Linked DNA regions of Homo sapiens: region 1 is linked to region 2. The links are contacts of gene promoters, found by promoter capture Hi-C in blood cells and fetal thymus (Javierre and others, 2016). All regions are on one chromosome and are shown on one strand. Each heading gives the region's core, a stretch centred on a gene start or on the middle of the fragment in contact. The rest is flanking DNA. Distances are from core to core; before and after follow the strand shown. Region 1 overlaps GLB1L2 (galactosidase beta 1 like 2). Region 2 holds the start of JAM3 (junctional adhesion molecule 3).

Region 1 (5,789 bases), core at 2,187-4,686, 280 kb before region 2:
AATAGGTGTTTGTTTTTTCAAAAGCCCAATGTTCAACCAAAAAAACACAAACATAAAAAGAAACAGGGAAGTATGACTCATCAAAGGAACAAAATAAATCTCCAAAAGCAGTATCTGAAGAAACACACACACCAGACTCAGTAGAGCAAGATCTATAACAGCTGTCGTAAATATGCTCAAGGAGCTAAAGGAAACCAGGCAAATGATATATGAAGAAAAAGAGAATATCAACAAAGAAACAGAGATTATTTTTAAAAGAACCAAAGGAACTTCTGGGGCTGAAATATACCATATATAAATTGAAAAATTCACTAGAGGAGTTCAACGGCAGATTCAAACAGGTAGAAGAAAGAAAAGCAAACTTAAACACAGGTTATCAGAAATGATCAGGTCTGAGGAGATAAAAGAATAAAGAAAAGTGAACAGAGCCTAAGGGGCTTACACAACATCTTCAAGCAGAATAATATATGAATTATGGGTTTCTTAGAAGAAAAAGAGAGATAAAAGGGCAGGGAGATTATTTTTACAAAATAATAGCTGAAAACTTCTCCAATTTGAGGAAAGACAAGATTATATAAATCTAAGGAGCTCAAAAAATTCCAGAGAACCACTCAGGGACACTCTATAATCAAACCATTGAAGACAAAGAGAGATTCTTGAATGCCAGAAAAAGTTTTGGTCACAGGCAAGGGATCCTCAATAAGACTATAAAGGATATCTCAGCCAGAAAATTTTCAGGCCAGAAGGCAATGAGATGATATAGTCAAAGTGCTGAAAGGAAAAAGTGTCAACTTTTTTTTTGACACTTCTATATCCAGCAAAACTCAAAAATGAGGGAAAAATTAAGAAATTCCCAAAGTAAAGCTAAGAGAGTTCATTACCACTAGACCTTCCCTAGAAAAAAAACACCTAAAGTTGAAATGAAAAAATGCTAGAGAGTAATTTGAAGCTATATGAAAATATAAAGTTCTCCAGCAAAGATAGACACATAAAAAATATAAAAATATTATTATAATTTTTCTTTACAATGTGGCTTTTTATTTTCTACAAGATTTTAAAAGACATAAAATAATTATAAATTTAAGTTAATGGGTACACCCAATATGAAGACATAATTTGTGACATCAATAAAATAAAGTGGAAGGGCAGAACTGTAAAGGAGTTTTTGTGTGCAGTTGAAGTTAGGTTGGTATCAATTTAAAACAGAATGTCACAACTTTAGGATATTATATATCCTTTACCTTATCCCAAGGTAAAGGGAATCGTTATAAAAAAGTGTCACTATAAAAAAATCAACTAGATACAAAGTAAAGCAGTCATAAAGGAAATGAGGGACAAAAAGCTGTAAGACATACAGAAAGCAACAAAATGGCAAAAGCAAGTGATTCTCTATCAGTAATTACTTTGAATGTAAACACATTAAACTCCCCAATCAAAAGACATACATTGGCAGAATGGATTTTTAACAAACCGATATCCAACTATATACTATCTACAAGACACTCACTTCAGATCTAAGGATATTTATTGGTTGGAAGTGAAAGGCTGGAAAAAGATATTTTATGCAAACAGTAATCAAAAGAGGAGGGGTGGCTTTGCTAATATCAAACAAAATAGACTTTATATCAAAAACTGTTACAAGAGACAAAGACATGATAAAATATATATAATGATAAAAGGGTCAATTCACCAAAAGGATATAACAATTATAAACATATATGCACCAAATGCCAGAATTCCAAAGTATATGAGCCAAACAGTGGCAAAATTAAAGGGAAAAATAGACAATAATAGTAGGAGACTCAATATCTGAATATCAATAATGGATAGAGTAACCAGACAGAAAATTAGTAACCAAATAGAGGACCTAGACAATATTATGGACCAGTTGGACCAAACATATATATACACAACATTCCACCCAAAAGTAGCACAATACACATTTTTCTCATGGGCACATAAAACACTCTCCAGGATAAACCATATAGTAAGCCAAAAAAACAAGCCTTAATAAATTTTTCTTTTTTAAAAAAAAACAGAGTCTTGCTCTGTCACCCAGGCTGGAGTGCAGTGGCACAATCTTGGCTCACTGCAACCTCCATCTCCCAGGTTCAAGTGATTCTTGTGCCTCAGCCTCCCAAGTAGCTGGGATTACAGGTGCCCGTCACCACACCTGGCTAATTTTTGTATTTTTTAGTAGAGAATGGGTTTCAACATGTTGGCCAAGCTGGTCTCTAACTCCCGACCTCAAGTGTTCCACTTGCCTCGGCCTCCCAAAGTGCTAGGATTACAGGCATGAGCCACCACACCCAGCCTCAAGCTTTAATAAATTTAAAAAATTGAAATCTTACAAAGTTTTATTTTTCCCAATCACAATGGAATGAAACTAGAAATCAATAACCAAAAAAGTCCTGAAAAATTCAAGTATGTGGAAATAAAATCTTCACCAATAGTCCAAAGAGGAAATCACAAGAGACATTAGAAAATATATTGAGGCCAGGCGCAGTGGCTCACGCCTGTAATCCCAGCACTTTGGGAGGCCAAGGCGGGCGGATCACCTGAGATAGGGAGTTCAAGACCAGCCCGGCCAACAAGGGGAAACCCCGTCTCTACTAAAAATACAAATATCAGCCGGGCGTGGTCACGGGCACCTGTAATCCCAGCTACTTGGGAGGGTGAGTAATGAGAATCACTTGAACCTGGGAGGCGGACGTTGTAGTGAGCTGAGATCATGCCACTGCACTCCTGCCTGGGCGACAAGAGCGAGACTCCATCTCAAAAAAAAAAAAAAAGAAGACATATTGAGAAAAATGAAAATGGAAATAAAATTATGAATTACAGTGAAAGCAGTGCAAAGAGGGAAATTTTATAGCTATAAATACATTTAAAAGACAAAAGGTCTCAAACCAACAACTTAACTTTATACCTTAAGAAACCAGAAAAAGGGAAACAAACTAAAAGGTAGCAGAAGTAAGGAAATAATAAAGATTAGAGCAGAGATAGACAATGAGAGAATAGAAAAACAATAAAGAAAAATTAATGAAACCAAGAGTTGGTTATTTGAAAAGATCAACAAAACTGACAAACTGCAGCTAAACTAAGAAAAAAGATATGACTCAACTAAAATCAGAAACAACATGAGGCTATTACTGCTGATTTTACAGAAATAAAAACGATTACAGAAGAGGAATATGAACAAATTGTACGCCAACAAATTAAATATTAAATAACCTAGATGAAACACACAAATTCCTAGAAATATATAATATGCCAAAACTAAATCATGAAGAAATATAAAATCTGAACAGACCTATAACTAGTAAGGACACTGAATCAGTAACTAAAAACCTCCCAACAAAGAAAAGTCCAGGACCAGATGGCTTCACTGGTAAATTCTACCAAATATTTAAAGAAAAATTAACGCCAGTCTTCCTCAAACCCTTCCCAAAAATTGAAAGGGAAGGAACACTTCCTACCTTATTCTATAAGGTAGAATACAGTAATAAACTCTTTTCACTTTTCTTTGGGAATTTCTTAATTTTTCCCTCATTTTTGAGTTTTGCTGGATATAGAAGTGTCAAAAAAAGTTGACACTTTTTTCTTTTATTACAAACAAAAGACACTATGAGAAAAGAAAACACGGACTAACAGTCCTGATGAATACTGATGCCAAAACCCTCAACAACATGTTAGCCAACTTAATTCAGCAGCATATTAAAAGAATTATAAACCATGATCAAATGGGATTCATTCCTGTAATGCGAGGATGATTTGCCATGTGAAAAGCAATCAATGTAGGCCAGGCATGGTGGCTCATGCCTATAATCCCAGCACTTTGGGAGGCTGAGGCAGGTGGATCACCTGAGGTCAGAAGTTTGAGACCAGCCTGATCAACAGGGTAAAACCCCATCTCTACTGAAAATACAAAATTAGCTGGGCATGGTGGCAGGTGCTTGTAACCCCAGCTATTCAGGAGGCTGAGGCAGGAGAATCACTTGAACCTGGGAGGAGGAGGTTGCAGTGAGCTGAGATAGCGCCATTGCTCTCCAGCCTGAGCAACAAGAGGGAACCACCATCTCAAAAAAAAAAAAAAAAAGAAAGAAAAAGAATCAATCAATGTAATATACCGCATTAACAAAATTAAGAGGAAAAACCACATGATGATCCCAATTGATGCAGAAAAAAGTGATAAAATTCAACATTCTTTCATGATAAAAAACACTCAGTCAACTAGGAACAGAAGGAAACTACCTCAACATAGTAAAGGCCCCATACAGAAAGCCCACAGTCAACATCATATTCACTGGTGAAAGACTGAAAACTTTTCCTCTACGATCAGGAACAAACCAAGCATTCGTGCTTTCAGCACTTCTATTCAACACGGTACTGGAAGTCCTGCCAGAGCAATTAGTCAAGAAAAAAATAAAGGCAACCAAGTTGGAAAGGAAGAAGTTATCTCTGTTCACAGACAACATGATCTTAAATGCAGAAAACAGTGCACATCCCCACACCCCTAAAAAAAACTATCTAGCTAATAATTCAGTAAGCTTGCAGGATAAAAAAAATCAATGTGCAAAAATGCATTGTTTTTATCCACCATCAGGGGACAATTCCATTTACGACACCATCAAAAACAACAAAATACTTGGGAATACATTTAATCAAGGAGGTGAAATATTTGTACACTGATTGTACATTACAAACAAAATACTAAAAGAAAATAAAAGACAGTGGAGCAAGATGGAGGAATAGAAGGCTGCACCGTTCATCCGTCCTGCTGGAACACGAAATTTTAACAGTGATCTGCACGCAGAAAAGCACCATGACAAAAACCGAAACTCAAGTGACCCGTCACAGTACCTGGTTTTAACTTCATATCACCAAAAGACGCATTAAGGCAGGCAAGAGAGACAGCCTTACACCACCGATGCCACCCTCTCCCATCTCCCAGCGGCAGCCAAGTGGTGAGGAGAGAGGATCTGTGCATTTGGGGAAGGGAGAGCACAGTGACTGGGGAACTTTACATTGAACTCAGTGCTGCCTTGTCACAGCACAGGATAAAGCCATGCTGAGCTCAGCCAGCATCCACGTAGACGGAGCATTTGGACCAGCCCTAGCCAGAGAGGAACTGCCCACCCTAGTGATTGGAACTTGAGTTTCTTGGGAAGCCTCACCACCATGGGCTGAAGTGCTCTGGAGTCCTAGGTAAACATGAAAGGCAGTCTAGGACACAAAGACCGCAATTCCTATGCAACTCCTGGAGCTAGGATGAGCTTACAGCCAGTGTACTAGCACAGCGCATGGCCTAAGGAGCCACCAGCTGGCATGGCTAAGGGAGTTCTTGCACATCCCTCCCCCAAGCCCAGGTAGCGCAGCTCACAGCAACGAAAGTGGCTCCTTCCTTCTGCTTAAGGAGAGGAGAGCAAAGAGTAAAGAGGACTTTGTCTTGCATCTTGGATCCAGCTCAACCACAGTAGGAAAGGGCGCCGGCAGAGTCAAGAGGCCCTCGTTCCAGGCCCTAGCTTCCAGACACTTCTAGACATACCCTGAGCCAAAAGGGAACCTGCTGCCTTGAAGCGAAGGACCCAGTCCTGGCAGGTCCTGTTAAGGAATTGATCTCCAGAAAGTAAAAAGAATTCCTATAATCAACAACATAAAAACAAACAACTAGATTCAAAAATGAGCAGAAGACTTGAATAAACATTTCTTCCAAGATATGCAAAAGACCAATCAGCACATGAAAGATGCTCAACATCACCAGGGAAATGCAAATCAAAACCACCATGAGA
Region 2 (5,151 bases), core at 149-2,648:
CCATCACGAGCATCCCATTAGCATAAAGCACCAAACACAGGAATGCTTTGTTTTCCAAAATCTGTCCACCTTCACTCCTAAACAGTCCCTCCGTGTTTTAATTTGTATATTCTGGAAAACATCATGGGATGACAGTGGCAATTCAAACAATAAAATAATCTAAGAACCGAAAAAGGTCCTGGTCTGGTTACCTGCGGATGGCTGCCAGGGGAAGAGTGTGGTGTCCTGCTTTAGGTAAATATGAAGTTGAGGCTTCACTACTTAGAATGCAGCCTTGGAAAGCAGACTAGACTTGACTCTGAAAATGGATTAATGAAACCTATCTCACAGAGCTGCTGAAAGGAGTAAACGAGATAATGGCTCCAAAGTGCCTAGTAGACAGTACAAGCTCACTAAAGGAAAGCTATTTTAGTCCTCTGTACAACTGTCCAGGAAAATGTGGATCTAATGAGAATTCCAAACAGAGGGAAAGAAAATGCACAAAACTATCAAGTTTATTAGTGTGTCTTGATCAAATGCCCCGAATGCTATTTCCGGATAAGAGTCTGCGTGGTCTCCTCGGCCAGGCCAGAGACAAAAAAGGTACTGGATTGATATCCATTTTATTTCTGTAAAAGAAAAGCAGTTCCTTTGTGTCGAGTCAAATGAACTGCAGATCCCCAGAGGGCTGTGACCAAGCAGCCCGCCAGGCCTCGGAGCTCTGCCTCGCCGGTCCTCAGCTACGTCCCCCGCTCACCGTCCCTTCTGGAGAGCACAGCACTGCTGCGCAGGGTCTTCCAGCAAGTTCCAGCGCCCACGCCGCAGCTGCCGCGCTCCCTCCAGAGGGCCGTGCCCACCGCCCGGGAGGGGTCCACCCCGGGGACGAGCCCACCGCCCAGCACAGGACCCCGCCTGGGAGGAGCCCACCCGGGGGATGAGCCCACCGCCCAGCACAGGACCCCGCCTGGGAGGAGCCCACCCGGGGGATGAGCCCACCGCCCAGCACAGGACCCCGCCCGAGAAGAGCCCGCCCCCGGGGTCCGACGGCTGTCCGGGACCGACTCACTGCCTGGGACGGGCCCCCCATCCCAAATTAGCTCCCCGCCCCGGTCCAACTGCCGGGCGTCCCAGGGCCCCCGCCCTAGCCAGGCCCGAGTCCCAGCCCTGGCTGCGGGGACGCGGGCGCGCGCCGCCCCTCCGGCCCGGGACCCCGGGAGCCCTCGGAGCCAGGACCGCTATCCTCGCCCGGACCGGCTCCAGCAGCTTCGGCCCGCTCTGCTTCCGTCGCCCCCAGACCCTAGTCTCCCAACAGCGGAAACGCGCAAACTCACCCCTGAAAAGCAGCAGCAGGAAGAAGTCAGGCAGCCGAGCGCAGAGCCGGAGTCGCGGTGGCCGCCTCAGCGCCATGTCGAGGGTTGCTGAGGGGCCAGCGGCAGCGCGGCGCGGCTTGTAGTCCCCGCGCGCATGCGCCCAGCCTGCCAGGACCCTGCGACCCGCCCCAGTTACCATGGCGACCGCCGGGCCCAGCCGAGCCGGCACCATGGTGACAGAGGAAGCTGAGGTCTAGCTGCTTACGGATGCAGCGATGCTCTGGACCGGCACATGGGTTCTCTTTCAATGAACTTGGCGGGAGGAGAGTAAAGAAGTATGTACAAGAGTGAAGCAGGGTATATTTCCATAGCTATAGAATAAATCCATCACAACAGGTCGGAGAAGGAACACTCCTTTAAAATTTGGGAAATAAAGTATTTCTTATTTTACAAATAAGGATGCAGCCCAGTTATCTTGGAAGCATTATCGCCTTCACATCTTTTGGGCCCCCAATTCCAAATTGATGGAAGGAAAAGAGCTGAAATCTGCTTAAAACATAAGCAATACATACATTATACAGCATATAAAAGTGATGTCTTGCTAAAATAATTTGTTTATGTGGTAGATCAAAAGCATGATGGCATACCCAATAGTTTATTCTGCAGAAAAGCAGACTAATTATTTGCTCTGATTTCTGAATACTGGGAGATAGTAAAACCAGGGAAGAACAGGTAAGATGAGGACAAACAGGAAAAATGAAGAGAAGGATAAATTAAAGCAGAAATTAGATCTAAAAAAGCAAGAGTATTTAAAGTCTCACTTAATACTATGGAAAATACTTGAAAAGCTTGTATTTTAGCAAGTATAGAAAGTACACCTCCAATGTTCCCAGAAACAGCAGTCTAGCAACAGAATTCTGAATATAATTGTTAGTAAAATAAGCCAGTTTCCAACTAATATTTTTAATGTTTAACTTTTTCATATACTCATGCTACTTTTTTAGTATTTTTAGTTTTCATGCAAAATAGAAGTATATTTACATATTATGTATACCAAATTTATATATGTAAAAGCCGGGAAACGTGAAATAGATTGAGATTGTTGCCAAGAATATGCTTCAGTTTCCATCACTGTATAATCTTCTTTGTAAATCTTTATAACTGCTCAGATCTTTATGTTAATTGATTACCTTCTCAAAAATCTTATAAAGACAGAATAAAAATTAAAAAATAACTCAATTACCTACTATGATTCTGTCTTTCCTTTCATAAATCTTCTTTATGTTCCAGGTCACCATGCACTAAATCACAAGTAAAAGTGTGTAAAAGTTGTTTTATAATGGTGGCCTCTTTCCCTTTATCAAGCACAAAATCGAGAAATTAAAAAGAAGAAAATTCGTCTTATGCCCACTGACATTTTTTTCTGCCCTCTGTTTTCCCTATTATTCCCTTTAGCTCCTGGTCACATGGCCAGGCATATTTACCTAACTGAAGGAACTGTTTGGGTTACTTGGAAATGTGAGATGGTGTCTGACTGTGGACAGAGCACGGTTTTCAAAAACCAGTGCCTCTTTTCTCCTGCGGAATTTTCAGTGTTTGCGTTGTAAAATGGTCTATCTGTTAAATGGTCTTCCTGCTAGGGAATCTTTTGAAACTCAGACCGAGATTACAAAAAAGGGCTGCATGAATATTCTATAAGGGGCAGAGGTTCCTAGGAGAGTGGATGGCAGGTGCTTCATTGTAAGACATTGATTTTCCTCTGCAGATGGAGTCGGCATGTCATTACCAACAGCTGAGACAGTTCCTGGAATGGAAGTCTAACTAGGGATGCAGCAGAGTGGGGTAGGACACACGTGGCTGTGAAGTGGTCTGCTCTTCCTTAGGGTTTCATTGTTCCCTGGAGAGCTCTGACCCTGTGCAGAAGGGAATCAGAGCTCAATAAGGCCAGCAGCAAAGTCCTGGAAGCATTCCGTGAGCAGGGCTGAGGAGGCTCTGCCTCCATCACAGCATTACTCATCTGAATATGCTTATTTCTAAGGTGTGGCTTACTAGGGAGACATGCACTTCTTAAAAGAGCTCGGGGAACTGAATGTAAACCAACAATAAAATGCTAAGCCCTGGCCAGGCGTGGTGGCTCACGCCTATAATCTCAGCACTTTGGCAGACCAAGGAGGGAAGACCATGAGGTCAGGAGTTTGAGACCAGCCTGACCAACATGGTGAAACCCTGTCTCTACTAAAAATACAAAAATTTGCCAGGCATGGTGGCAGGCGCCTGTAATCCCAGCTACTCGGGAGGCTGAGGCAGGAGAATCACTTGAACCCGGGAGGTGGAAGTTGCAGTGAGCCAAGATTGCGCCACTGCACTTCAGCCTGGGTGACAGAGTGAGACTCTGTCTCAAAAAAAAAAAAAAGCTAAGCCCCTCAACAATCTGAAATGACCCCTCCTCTCAGCCAAAGGCACTGCAAAGTTAACCTGAAAAACTAGTTTAAGCCATGATCGGGGAGTTGGATATGCCTTATTATACCCTCCACCCTTTTGGAATTCAGGCCAACTGACCAGCATCAACATTAAAACAGATCTTAAGACTGATAGGGCCAGGTGCGGTGGTTCAGGCCTGTAATCCAGGCCCTTTAGGAGGCCAAGGTGGGCGAATCACCTGAGTTCAGGAGTTTGAGACCAGCCTGGCCAACATGGTGAAACCCTGTCTCTACTAAAAATACAAAAAATTAACCAGGCATCATGATGCATGCCTGTAGTTCCAACTACTTGGGAGACTGAGGCAGGAGAATCGCTGGAACCCAGAAGGCGGAGGTTGCAGTGAGCTGAGATCGTGCCACTGCACTCCACCTGGGCAACACAATGAGACTCCGTCTAAAAACAAACAAACAAAAAAGACTGATACAACAGACTCTCTCTCTCTCTCTGAAGCCTGTTACCTGGAGGCTTCATCTGCATGATAAAAACTTGGTCTCCACAACCGTTATTCTAACACAGACGTTCCTTTCTTGCTTGCTTTTTTTTTGTTTTGTTTTTTGTTTTTGTTTGTTTGTTTGTTTGACAGGGTCTTACCCTGTCACTCAGGCTGGAGTGCAGTGGCACACAATCGTGGCTCATGCTTGAGCCTCAACCTCCAGGCTCAAGCAATCCTCCCACCTCAGCCTCCTGAGCAGCTGGGACCACAGGTGTGCGCCACCATAGCTGGCTAATTTTTCTACTTTTTTTTTTGGTAGAGATGGGATCTCACCATGTTGCCCAAGCTGATCTTGAACTTCTGGGCTCAAGTAATTTGCCCGCCTCAACTTCCCAATGTGCTGGGATTACAGAAGCGAGCCACTGCCCCAGAGCCAGACCAGACCTTCCTTTCTATCAGAATAATCTTTGAATCTGCCTATGACCTGAAATCCCAACCCCACCCACTTATAGTTGTCCCACCTTTCTAGACAGAACCAATGTACACCTTACATGTATTGACCGATGCCTCATGTCTCAAAAAAAAGAAAAAAAGGAATGTGATCCATGACTTCTGTTCCTTTACTATGCTATTCTAGCCCTGAACAATCATCTGAAGTCAACCCGCATCGCATGAGAGAAGTGGGATCCTTTGACTAATGGAAGTCTCTGACCTCAGAGTCCTTCTTTAAAGCATTCTTCTTCAGGGCTTTTCAAAGACCTGGGTATGTTTCTGTTTCTCCATCTCTCCTCTCTTTAAGTCCCATCTTCCTCACAATATTTTCAACTATGTTATCCCACATTTTATCTCAACTCTTATCCCCTGCTTTTTCCTTCAAAGTATTTCTTTAATTTTATTTAAATAGGAAAACCTTCTCCCACCTCCCTCTAAGGAAACAGTAGCAGACAA

What was found. The method cuts DNA at HindIII sites, captures the fragments that hold promoters and counts their contacts. A CHiCAGO score of 5 or more calls a contact.
Region 1: a fragment that was not itself captured here is called in contact with the fragment with the promoter of JAM3 in region 2 in 1 of 17 cell types (total CD8 T cells); the score reaches 5.2 in total CD8 T cells.

The regions. Positions count from the first base shown.
Region 1 is chr11:134,349,653-134,355,441 of GRCh38, reverse strand. The region is part of intron 5 of GLB1L2 (galactosidase beta 1 like 2); the gene reads right to left. Among named protein-coding and RNA genes, the nearest start is that of GLB1L2, 21 kb to the right of the region's middle. RefSeq lists a silencer at 5,755-5,789. The HindIII fragment of the contact is 2,227 bases long and covers 2,323-4,549 here.
Region 2 is chr11:134,065,319-134,070,469 of GRCh38, reverse strand. It overlaps JAM3 (junctional adhesion molecule 3), which reads right to left and starts at 1,398. Exons shown (of 9, transcript NM_032801.5): 1 at 1,311-1,398. The coding sequence starts at 1,386. RefSeq lists a silencer at 1,404-1,593. The HindIII fragment of the contact is 4,850 bases long and covers 1-2,139 here.